2 separate regions of the Homo sapiens genome follow, and region 2 is linked to region 1. Evidence: promoter capture Hi-C in human tissues and cell types (Jung and others, 2019). All regions are on one chromosome and are shown on one strand. The core of a region is centred on a gene start or on the middle of the fragment in contact, and the rest is flanking DNA. Distances in the headings are between cores, read along the strand shown.

Evidence for each region. The method cuts DNA at HindIII sites, captures the fragments that hold promoters and counts their contacts. A contact is called where the count stands out against the background at its distance.
Region 2: a contact is called between a fragment that was not itself captured here and the fragment with the promoter of HECTD4 in region 1, in 1 of the 25 tissues and cell types used here (adrenal gland).

Annotation. Positions count from the first base shown.
Region 1 is chr12:112,378,040-112,384,383 of GRCh38, reverse strand. It overlaps HECTD4 (HECT domain E3 ubiquitin protein ligase 4), which reads left to right and starts at 1,953. Exons shown (of 76, transcript NM_001388303.1): 1 at 1,953-2,432. The coding sequence starts at 2,256. RefSeq lists silencers at 1,633-1,922, 2,033-2,302, 2,313-2,802 and enhancers at 1,810-2,309, 3,495-3,995. The HindIII fragment of the contact is 28,101 bases long and covers 1-6,344 here.
Region 2 is chr12:112,328,692-112,334,781 of GRCh38, reverse strand. All of the region lies in intron 1 of HECTD4 (HECT domain E3 ubiquitin protein ligase 4), which reads left to right. Among named protein-coding and RNA genes, the nearest start is that of HECTD4, 51 kb to the left of the region's middle. The HindIII fragment of the contact is 6,026 bases long and covers 445-6,090 here.

The DNA of each region.
Region 1 (6,344 bases), core at 704-3,203:
TCAACTCTGAACTGCTGGATTTATTGTTCTCTTCTTCCTCCTCTTCCTCTTCTTTTCTTCTTTTTTGAGACAGGGTCTTACTCTGTTGCCCAGGCTGGAGTGCAGTGGCATAATCTTAGCTGAATCACTGCAACTTCTGCCTTCTGGGCTCAAACGATCTTCCTGCTTCAGCCTCCTGAGTAGCTGGGACTATGGGTGTGCACCACCACGCCTGGCTAATTTTTGTATTTTTTGTAGTGACGGGGTTTTGTCATGTTGCCCAAGGGGGTCTCGAGCTTCTGGGCTCAAGAGATCTGCCAGCCTTGGCCTCCCAAAGTGTTGGGATTACCCACGTGAGCCACTGTGCCCGGCCATAATATTCCATCTTATGGATATATCATATTTTAGTTAACCAGCCCCATATTGTTGGACATCTAGATTGATAAGTTTTTCCTTTTGTAAACAATATTGAGCTACACAACCCTGTATATCCATCCTTGACTACGAGTCTGATTATTTCCTTCAGACAACTTCCTCAAAGTTGAATTGCTGGATCAAAGGGTATGCACCTTAATGTTCTCCTGTTATTGTTATTGTTATTATTATTATTATTATTATTATTGAGATGGAGTCTTGCTCTGTTGCCCAGGCTGGAGTGCAGTGGCATGATCTCGGCTCACTGCAACCTCCGCCTCCTGGGTTCCAGCTATTCTCCTGCCTCAGCCTCCTGAGTATCTGGGACTACAGGCATGTGCAACCATTCCTGGCTAATTTGTGTATTTTTTTTAGCAGAGACAGGGTTTCATCATGTTGACCAGGCTGGTCTCGAACTCCTGACCTCAGGTGATCTGCCCACCTTGGCCTCCCAAAGTGCTGGGATTACAGGTGTAAGCCACTGTGCCCGGCCTGTTTTATTATTTTTTAAGTGATAAAAATATACAAGTAATAGAGAACAATCTCATCTCAGTAGTTCCAGACCAGCCCCACACTCCCATGGCAACTCACCTTAAACATCTGGTGTGTATTTGTTCATGCATTGTTCTTTATACATATAGTTTTCCTTTCTTGTTTTTATAAAATGGCACTGGTGGGCATATATATATTTTTGGTGGGGAGGGAGGGATGGGGTCTCCCTCTGTCGCCCGGGCTGGAGTGCAGTGGCAAGATAATAGCTCACTGCAGCCTCCACCTCCTGAGTTCAAGAGATCCTCTTGCCTCAGCCTCCCGAGTAGCAGGACTACAGACGCTTGCCACCCTGCCCCGCTAATTTTTATTTTTTGTAGAGATGGGGTCTCCCTATGTTGCCCAGGCTGGCCTCAAACTTCTGGGCTCAAGCAGTCCTTCTGCCTTGACCTCCGTGCTGGGATTACAGGTGTGAGCCACCGCACCCGGCCTAGTGAGCATATTTTTAAGGTGTATGTCAATTAGTGTGGAACACTGATGGAACGAACATAGCAATAATTAGAATTGCCACTCATGGAGCACATATTAAGTGTCGGGCATTGAGCACCAAGCATTGTGGACAGACGCTTTATTTTCACCAGGTTTTGAGTGCTTACTGGGTACTAGACTTTTCAGTCAATATTAATCATCTACTATGTGATTCTACCAAGTGCTTATGAACAAGTGTGCAGCGCCTATTCTGCGCCAGCCTTTTGCTTGCATCTCATTTAAACGTGAAAACAAGGAGTGATCTCTATGCTCTGCCCAGGGTGGGGGCGCGGGCCCGAGCAAGGGGTGCACACCTGAGTAGGGACAGGACGGGGGAAGCGGCGTCCTCTTCCCTGGCGCGCTGCAAAGCCAGGGCTACCCTGAATGGCCAGGGGGAGAAGGGGCCGGCGGAGGTCAGGCCGAGGGCAGGCGGCAGCGAAGGGCTAGGCGGACGTCCAGGCCACCCGGGTGGCCTCGTCCGCGGAGCGGTGGGCGGAGCGGCGGGCGGGGCCTGTATTGTCCGCTCCGCGAGGCATGCCGGGAGCCCCGCCCCCAACATGGCGTCTCACTGACAGTTGGTTGCCGAGCGGCAGAGGCGGATCCTGCTCCTGAGGGCGGCGGCGGCGGCGGCGGCGGCGGCGGCGGCAGGGCCGGGGTCTCCCGGGCCGGGGTCGGGGGTATGGCGACTCGGACCGCCTAGGGCGGAGTTGCACGGGCGAGGCAGCAAGTGGGGCGCCGCTGGCGGGCGCGGCGGCCGCTGCCATGGACTGGTGATCGCGGCGGCTCCTGCTCCGTTTCCCCCGGCCGGGCGTCTGCTCCTCAGCGCCAAGCCTTCAGCCGGGGCCATGGGCTCGTCGGCGGCCGCGGCGGCGGCGGCGGCGGCGGCCGCTGACTCGGCGCAGTGGCTCTCGGTGAAGGAAGAGACCATCTTCCTGCACGACGGGCTGATCCGGGTCACCGACCTGGCCGAGCTGCCCAGCGAGATCCTCGGGGCCCCAGAGGCCGCGGACACCGACCTGGAGGTGAGCGAGGCGGCCCCCGGCCCCCGCCATCGGACTGACCCACTCGCCCGGCACCCCCGGGTCGGGCCCCCTCCTCGCCTCAGCCGCGGCCTCGCCTCCCGGCGGCTGCCGGGGCAGGTGTGTGTGGGCGCGGGGCGGGCAGGTGGGGCCGCGGCCGCAGGTCTGCGGACCGCCCGCCCCGCTCTCCCTCCCTCCCTCCTCGGGGCCTGGCGCCCGCAGGGGATTTCATTTGTGGTTTTCTTTTGAGCGTTCCGACACCCGGCATTTTATTAGGCTAGCGCCTGGCTCGGCCTTCATGCCCCAGAGGAGCCACCGCCACCACCCGGGCCCTCCCTCCCCTCCCCCACGGGCCCCCAGGACCCACTTCCAGGGCACACCCAGGTTGCTTAGCTTTGGGAACATTTTGATTTTCACGCTGTGTACCCTCCCATCCTTTTCTTCCCTAGTTCTGTTTTTTTTGTTTGGTTTGGTTTGGTTTTTTTCCGGGAGAGGGTAGTGGCAGCTGCGGGTCCGCGATGGGCAATCCAGCAACTTCTCTGTGTTGTGTCTCGGATGGATTGACACGGGGCCTTTGTCAGGGAAGCGGGCGCTGTGGACAGCGAGAGGGATGCTCCAGCGGCCCTCCATGCACTCTCGGGGAAGGGTCACTGGCGCGTTAGGCCGCAGGGCCTTTTTGTGTGCCCCGGGGGTCGCCAAGCATCCCGGGTTCAGAGCCGTGGCAGGTGCAACAGCAGATCTCATCAGTTGAGCTGCTTGGCCTTGGGGGCAGAAGGGAACCAAATATGCCTGGTTGGTGGGAACTTTCCATCGACTTCACTTGGGTTCGTGTTTGCCTAGAGGTGGGAATACTGGCAGTGTCGTTTCATGGAGGCCAACGGATGCTGACACTGCTCCCCTTCCACTTTGTGGGATGACATTTTGATGTGTAGGTAGCATGGGGTGTCATCAAATTTTTACTGCCGTAAGGAGAGCTTTCTGGGGTAGGGCGCAGAGAGGATGGCCTATCTTCTGGCTATAAACGGCATGCGAGGGATCTTTTGTGTTTTGCGGTTTTGCGTGCAGTTTGGCTTTACGCACAACGAACATTTATAGAAATGAATTAAAAGCCATTACTGTGTGTTTCTGGAAACGGCAGTGATCGGATCACATTGGCCGAGACATTTGGACGTGCTTGAGATGCGAATACGTTCCACTGTATTTTTGTGTCTGGATTTGCGGTTGCTTCAGCACTTCCGTTATGAACTCTTAATTGACTTATTTTACAATCTAGTCACCAAAAAGAGGAGGATATGGTTGGTAGGGAATTCCTAACATGGAATCATCGTTTTATTGTGTCTCATTTGGGCCTGTTCTATAACAAGCAAGGTGTGTCTGAGTGTCTTATCTGCCTGAAAACTCAAGGGGTATTATGCTATGATAGTGGAATCTTTTGATTTAATTGGCTGTGTTGTGTGTGAAAGGTGGAAAGTGGATGCTCTTTGTTTCTTTCTTTTCTTTTTTTTCCCCCGAGACCGAGTCTTGCTCTGTCGCCCAGGCTGGAGTGCAGTGGCGCGATCTCAGCCCACTGCAGCCTCTGCCTCCCGGATTCAAACGATTCTCCTGCCTCTGCCTCCCGAGTTGCTGGGATTACAGGCACGCGCCACCATGCCTGGCTAATTTTTGTATTTTTAGTAGAGACAGGGTTTCACCATGTTGGCCAGGCTGGTCTCGAACTCCTGACCTCAAGTGATCTGCCTGCCTTGGCTTCCCAAAGTGCTGAGATTACAGGCGTGAGCCACTATGCCGTGCCTATGCTCTTTGTTTCTTAAAGACTAATCCAAGTTCACAGAACCAAAATTTATACATATATGTCATTTATGTAGTTTATTTTTAGGATTAGAAAGAGTAGGATTAGTTAAAATATCTGTGATGTTGGTTTTCCTAAAATGTTTATAAATGTATTGCGTGAATTTGTCAGCTATTTCCACAGAAGAATGGTTTTCAAAGGAAAGAACCTCTCTGGCCTGCTAGATTTTTTTTTTTAATTGCTTTTTAAATTTATGGTCTGATTTCTCAGCAACTAGTATGTGTATGGGTGATAAACATTTATGACTGGTAGTAGTGAATAACTTGTTTCATTCTTTCCATGTTATACAGGCTCCATGGTATCAGGAGAAATAGATAGCTAAGAATGTTTTTGTGGCTATTAGATTTGTGTTTGTGTGGGTGTATTCACATATATATATATATATATAAAAAATCTTTTTATTTTTTATTTTGAGACAGGGTCTCTCTCTGTTGCCCAGGCTAGAGTGCAGTGGCTCCATCTCAGCTCACTGCAACCTCCACCTCCCGGGTTGAGGCAATTTTCCTGCCTCAGCCTCCCAAGTAGCTGGGATTACAGGCATACACCACCATGCCGGGCTAATTTTTGTATTTTTAGTAGAGACAAGGTTTTGCCATGTTGGCCAGGCAAGTCTCGAACTCCTGACCTCAGGTGATCCGCCTGCCTTGGCCTCCCAAAGTGCTGGGATTACAGGCATGAGCCACCATGCCCAGCACATATTTAATTACTTAATAATATTGATTAAATGTATCCTACATGTCAGGCATTATTTTATTAAATTCTCAAAAGAGCCTAACAATTGGAAATATTGCACTCATTGTACAGATGAAGGAAGTGCAGAGTAGGTATTCGACTTGTTCAAGAGCACATGAAGAGCTTGCACGTTAACCTAGTTCTGTTCACTGCACATCTGCTCCTCATCATAATATTTTATTGCCTCCATGCATGTATAGTATTTTTATTTGCAATTATTTTAAATTTCATAACTGGCTACAGAAGGAAGAATCTCTATTTTCTTTTAGTAACTGTTTCTTTTTCATATTTGAGGAAGATTCGTGGTCTATTAATTTTTGGTTTTTTTTTTTGAGACGGAGTCTTGCTCTGTCGCCCAGGCTGGAGTGCAGTGGCACAATCTCAGCTCACTGCAAGCTCCGCCTCCTGGGTTCACACCATTCTCCTGCCTCAGCCTCCCCAGCAGCTGGGACTACAGGCGCATGCCGCCACACCCAGCTAATTTTTGTATTTTTAGTAGAGACGGGGTTTCACCATGTTAGCCAGGATGGTCTCAATCTCCTGACCTTGTGATCCTCCCGCCTCGGCCTCCCAAAGTTCTGGGATTACAGGCGTGAGCCACAGCGTCTGGCCGGTTTATTAATTTTTTAAAAGCTATCTTTTGAAATACCACCACACCTATGAAATACAGTGTTTCAAGCCTCTCCTTCCAGTGGACATCTGGGTGAATAATGGCCATTTTCCACAGAGTTTTATAATATATAGAATCCTTCAGTTAACACTTTCGGATTATGAGGAACGGGACTCAAGTTGACTAATTATGACTGGCAACCTTACTGCAGAAGAGTGCAATAGACGTCTTAGAATTTTACGCCGGTCGCAGTGGCTCATGCCTGTAATCCCAGCAATTTGGGAGACCAAGACGGGCGAATCACAAGGTCAGGAGATTGAGACCATCCTGGCTAACACAGTGAAACCCCGTCTCTACTAAAAAAAAAAATACAAAAAATTAGCCGGGCGTGGTGGCGGGCGCTTGTAGTCCCAGCTACTCGGGAGGCTGAGGCAGGAGAATGGTGTGAACCCGGGAGGCGGAGCTTGCAGTGAGCTGAGATCGCGTCACTGCACTCCAGCCTGGGCAACATAGCGAGACTCCGTCAAAAAAAGAAAAAAAGAGTCTTAGAATTTTAGAGCAGAAGAGACTTTAGAGATAATAATGTCCCTCATTTTAGAAAGAAGTTCTCTGAGATCAGGAGATCTCAGTGATCAGAAGATGAGGTTATGACTTAGTCACTATAGCATAGCTAGTTGTGGCAGGGCAATGACTAGACCCTAGCTTTTCTACCTTTGGATTCCAG
Region 2 (6,090 bases), core at 2,208-4,707, 51 kb after region 1:
CTGGACTGCAATGGCAGGATCTCTCCTCACTGCAACCTCTCCCTCCCAGGTTCAAGCAATTCTCCTGCCTCAGCCTCTCGAGTAGCTGGAATTACAGGCACTCACCACACCATGCCGGCTATTTTTTTTTTTTTTTTTTTTTTTGTATTTTTAGTAGAGACAGGGGTTACTGTGTTGACCAGGCTGGTCTCGAACTCCTGACCTCGTGATCTGCCCGCCTCGGCCTCCCAAAGTGCTGGGATTACAGGCGTGAGCCACCGTGCCTGGCCGATTATGGCCATTCTTGCAGGAGTAAGGTGGTATGACATTGTGGTTTTGATTTGCATTTCCCTGATCATTAGTGATGTTGAGCATTTTTTCATATGTTTGTTGGCCATTTGTATATCTTCTTTTGAGAATTGTCTATTCATGTCCTTAGGCCACTTTTTGATGGGATTGTTTTTTTTTTCTTGCTAATTTGTTTGAGTTCACTGTAGATTATGGATATTAGTCCTTTGTCAGATGTATAGATTGTGAAGATTTTCTCCCACTTTATTTATTTATTTATTTATTTATTTATTTATTTATTTATTTAAGAGGGAGTCTGGCTCTGTCGCCCAGGCTGGAGTGCAGTGGCATGATCTCGGCCCACTGCAACCTCCACCTCCAGGATTCAAGCGATTCTCCTGCCTCAGCCTCCCAAGTGGCTGGGACTACAGCACGCACCACCACACCCAGCTAATTTTTGTGTTTTTTAGTAGAGATGGGGTTTCACCATATTGGCCAGGCTGGTATTGAACTCTTGACCTCAGGTGATCCACCCACCTTGGGGTCCCAAACTGCTGGGATTACAGACATGAGCCACCGCACCTGGCCCCACTTACTTAAAGTGAAGTTTTCTCTCATCAGCCATTTGCTTACCTAGGTGTAGAATACATATGAGAAATCAGGATAAATGTTTGCATTTCTCCTTATATTAAGCAATTTTCAAAATAATGAATTGGTTTGCCAACATCCTCTAGTGATAATTTTCCTTTTTGTAAGAGTATGAACTTGTGGACTTAAACATTTGATGTTTTTCTATCCCTTGCATTATTGTGCTTTTTTTGTTTGTTTGTTTAATAGATACAGGGATTTTGCTCTGTTGCCCCGGTCTTGAACTCGTGGGCTCAAGCAGTCCTCCCTCCTTGGCCTCCCAAAGTGCTGGAATTACAGGCATGAGCCACCATGTCTGGCCTCTATTGTCCATACTAATCTGGCAATATCATTGTTTCTCAAAATGGATAATTTTTTTTCTAAAGAAGATATACAAATGGCCAATAAGCCCATTAAAAGATGTGATGCTCAACGTCATTACCCATTAGAGAAATGCAAGTTAAAACTACATGAACATACCACTTCACACCCACTAGGATGACTATAATCAGAAATACATAATAACAAGTGGCACCAAAGATGTGGAGAAATTAAAATCCTCATGTGTTGCTAGTGGGAATGTAAAATGGTGCAGCCATCTAGGAAAACAGTCTAGCATTTCCTCTAGATGGTAAACATAGAGTTAACATGTGACTCGGCTGTTCCATTTTTAGATATTTACACAAGGGGGATGGAAACATGTCTGTATAACCTGTGCATGAATGTTCATAGCAGCATTATTCGTAATAGCCGAAAATGAAAACAATTAAAATGTCCATCAACTGATGAATAGATAAATAAAATGTGGTCTAGCTATACAAAGGAATTTTATTCAGCAATAAAAGGAATGAAATATTGACACATGTTAAAATATGGATGACCCTTGAAAACAGTATACTGAGAGAAAGAGACCAATTACAAAAGACCTCACATAATATGATTCCATTTATATGAAATGTAAAGAATAGGCAAATCTATAAATATAGAAAATAGAATAGTGGTTGCCAAGGGCTGGGAGATTTGGGGAAAATGGAGAGTGACTGCTAATGGGTTCAGGATTTTTGTTTTTTTTTTTTGCAGTAGGGTGGGGGTGTGTGATGAAAATGTTCTGAAATGTGAATGTATTATACTAAAGGCCATTGAATTATATTTTAGGTGGATGAATTTTATGGTACGTGAATTATGTTACAACAAATCTTTAATAAAGATTATATTATTTTTTATAAAAGGAGTCCGTAAAGTCACCCAAGGAGCTTGCTTAAATGCAGATTCCAGGGCAATATCCTAGACCTCTGGAAAAATCTTTAGAAATGGATTCCAGGAATCTTTTTTTTTTTTTTTTTTTTTGAGACAGAGTCTTAATCTGTCACCCAGGCTGGAGTGCAGTGGCACAATCTTGGCTCACTGCAACCTCCACCTCCTGGGTTCAAGCGATCAATTATCCTGCCTCACCCTCCCCAGTAGCTGGGATTACAGGCTCATACCACCAGGACCGGCTAATTTTTGTATTTTTAGTAGAGATGGGGTTTCACCATGTTGGTTGGCCAGGCTGGTCTCAAACTCCCGACCTTAGGTGATCCACCTGCCTCAGCCCCTGAAAGTGCTGGGATTATAGGTGTGAGCCACCGCGCCCTGCCCCAGGAATCTTTATATAAAGTGAGCACATCCAGGGATTTTGATGCACACTGTTTGAGTGACATATTATCAAAGTTCTTTATTATGCTTTGTGCATACCAGTAACTTCCTATTTCTGCTTGTGGTATAATAGAGAATAGGTCTTCCTCTTCCACATGACAGCCCTTCAGTCTTAGGAAGACAGCTCCCCCTTCCCACCCGTCTCTTCTGTAGGCCACGCATCCCCAGTTCCTTAACCATTTTTCATGTGACATGATTTCCAGATTAGTCAAATCATCTTCTTCTGGACACACTCTAGTCTCTTAATGGCTTCTTAAAATGAGGTACTTGGAACTGAACAGGATATTCCAGTTATAGTTTGACCATTGCAGAATATAAATGGGATTATTACCTCCCTTGTCCCTGACACTGGAATTCTACTGATGCATTCTAAGATTGCATTAGCTTTTGAAAACAGTGTTGGCTCAAGTGAAGCTTGTGTTTAACTCAAACCTCGCTTATGCCACCCCTGACTCTCCCAGCTTTTATCTAGTCAGGTCTTTGTTGTATGACCATCAGGAAAAATTCCCTTTCTTGTTGGTGATCTGGTCTATACATGGAAAGAGTATCTTTAATGTCATAACAATTATTTAGCAATTTCAACTTTTTCAGAGCATTGACTGTACATGATCTCCTTAGATTTTAACAACTGTGTAAAATGAAGGGAGGTGCTACCCTCGTTTTATAGATGCGGAAATACAGACTGAGAGACCTGAAGTAAAATGCCTAAGGGGAGGGAGAGTTATTTGCAGAGGCTGGCATAGAACCTAGTTCCCCCAACTCAGTGGTTTGAAATCTTGGCTGCACATTGGATTCACCTGTGGGCTTTAAAAACTGATGCTGGACAAGGTGTGGTGGCTCATGCCTGTAATCCCAGCACTTTGGGAGGCCGAGGCAGGAGGATCACCTGAGGTCAGGAGTTCAAGACCATCCTGGCCAACATGGTGAAACCCTGTCTTTACTAAAAATGCAAAAAATAGCTGGGCGTGGTGGCACGTGCCTGTAGTCCCAGCTACTAGGGAGATTGAGGCATGAGAATCACTTGAATCCGGGAGGCGGCAGTTGCATGAGTCGAGATCATGCCAGTGCACTCCAGCCTGGGTGATACAGCGAGACTCCATCTCAAAAAAAACAAAACAAACCAAAACACACCAGAACAAAAAAACCGATGCCTAGGCCCCATCCTCACATATTCTGAGGTAACCAGACCGGGGCGGGACCAACTCACTACTCTTGTTTAAAAGCTGTCAAAACAATTCTAATATTCAGGATTGAGAACAGCTGCCCTAAATCATATTCTGATGTCCCCTCCCCCTCACCACATGTATTTTCTTCATCTAATTAAAAGGTTCTTATGTGGAAGAGAGAGGATTATTTTCCATCATTCCAGAAGGCAAAAGTAAAATTAGTCCAAGTGGGAGAGGATTACTCAGATGTACAGTGGAAACCAGGTGTAAGCCCTAAGAGGATTATTCTTGGAATTTATTTATCTTCTCATTCATTAATTTATCAAACATTTATGTGCCAGACACTGTGCTCAGCTCTGGGGACACAAACATGAGTATGACATGGTCTCCCCCTTTTGGGGCTCACAGTTGAAAGGGAAGACAAACTGTAAATAAATAACATCATAGTGGAGTGTGGTAACTGTTACACGTATCAGAGCTGTTCAGTTTCCTTTTTAAATTTGTTATAGTTTTGTATTAAAAATTGTCAATAGTGATTTTCTTACCATAATATATTTATGCCAAGCATTTGGTGAATATGTTGCACTATATTAGTCTTTAAGTATGTAATTCAAGCAACAGATAAAGTTAGTCTGCAGAAATTTTGTGGAAATATCTTCTTTCTCTAAATACTCCTAATAATAAAATGTACAATAGTATTCAAACCATTTTGAAGAGTTTAGTCCTATGTCTTCCTTTTTTTTTTTTTTTGAGACAAAGTATCACTCTGTTGCCCAGGCTGGAGTGCAGTGGTGCGATCTCAGCTCACTGCAACCTCCGCCTCCCAGGTTCAAGGGATTCTCCTGCCTCAGCGTCCCAAGTAGCTGGGATTACAGGCGCCCATCACCACGCCCGGCTAATTTTTGTATTTTTAATAGAGATGGGGTTTCACTGTGTTTGTCAGGCTGGTCTCGATCTCCTGACCTCAGGTGATCTGCCCACCTTGGCCTCCCAAAGTGCTGGTATTATAGGCGTGAGCCACTGCGCCCGGCTAGTCCTCCAAATTTTTGATTTTTAAAAAATATTTTTATTAAAAAAAGTAGAGATGGGGTCTCACTATGTTGCCCAGATTTGTCTCAAACTCCTGGGCTCAAGCAATCGATCCTACCTCTTAGGCCTTCCCAAGTATTGAGATTACAGACGTGAGCCACTGTACCCAACCTCCAAATTCTATTCTGTTAATTACTAAGCATAGGTATATGATCTGTATTTATTTTGTCAAGATTTGATGTTGATGAAAAAATGATTTTGTAACATGGAGAAAATTTTAGATATGGATTTGATGCCTCTGAGATACCATTTATTAAAAACAAATCAATAGGCCAAGTGTGGTGGCTCATGCCTGTAATTCCAGCACTTTGGGACGCCGAGGTGGGCGGATCTCTTCAGGCCAGGAATTCGAGACCAGCCTGGCCATCATGGCGAAACCCTGTCTCTACCAAAAATACAGAAATTAACCCAATGTTGTGGTGGACATCTGTAATCCCAGCTACTCGGGAGGCTGAGGCACGAGAATCATTTGAACCCAGGAGACGGAGGTTGCAATAAGCTGAGATTGCACCACTGCACTCCAGCCTGGGCAACAGAGCGAGACTCTGTTAAAAAAAAAAAAAAAAACAAAAAACCCAAAACAAATCAATACATTCTTATTAAAACAGCTAAAACACTTTTCCTTATAGTTTGTAGCTGACTTTCTGATAAGAAGTATGTATACAGTACTGTGAAAACTCAGAGAAACTGTTTTGGAAAGGGGAAGAGAAAGAGAGGAAATCAGAGTTTCTCAAAGTAGGTCTTGATGGAGCAGGGCTGAATTTTGAAAGGTAGGATTTACACTGAGTCGGGTAGGCATTCAGGCAACAAGAGCAGGGAGATGGAAAAATAGAACCCTGGTCAAAGGGACAGCACAAAAGATGAAAACTGGGCAGGGGCCACAACAAGATGGAACTTTCATGGTAAAAGAATTTGAACAGTAATTTCTTATGTATTGGAGTCCTCACAATTCTGACAATCCTGCTGTCACCAGCAGTTATATGAAGATCTGGGAAAGTCACCATATGCTGGAGAAAGTTTTGCAGGGCTTAGCCAAAACTAAAAAATCTAGCAAGAAGTCAGAGTCCATTCCAGTTTTGGCATCCAGTTAGAGGCTAAAACTCATGAATTAAAGTGTGGAAATTTAATATCCTCGTTCTCAGTTAGGTTTAAGACCCTTTTTACAAATAAGAGATGTTGAAAAGTGAGTTTGAATAAACACATATTTCCAAGTTGGATAAGGTCGTGCAGCTTCAGGGTCTAATTT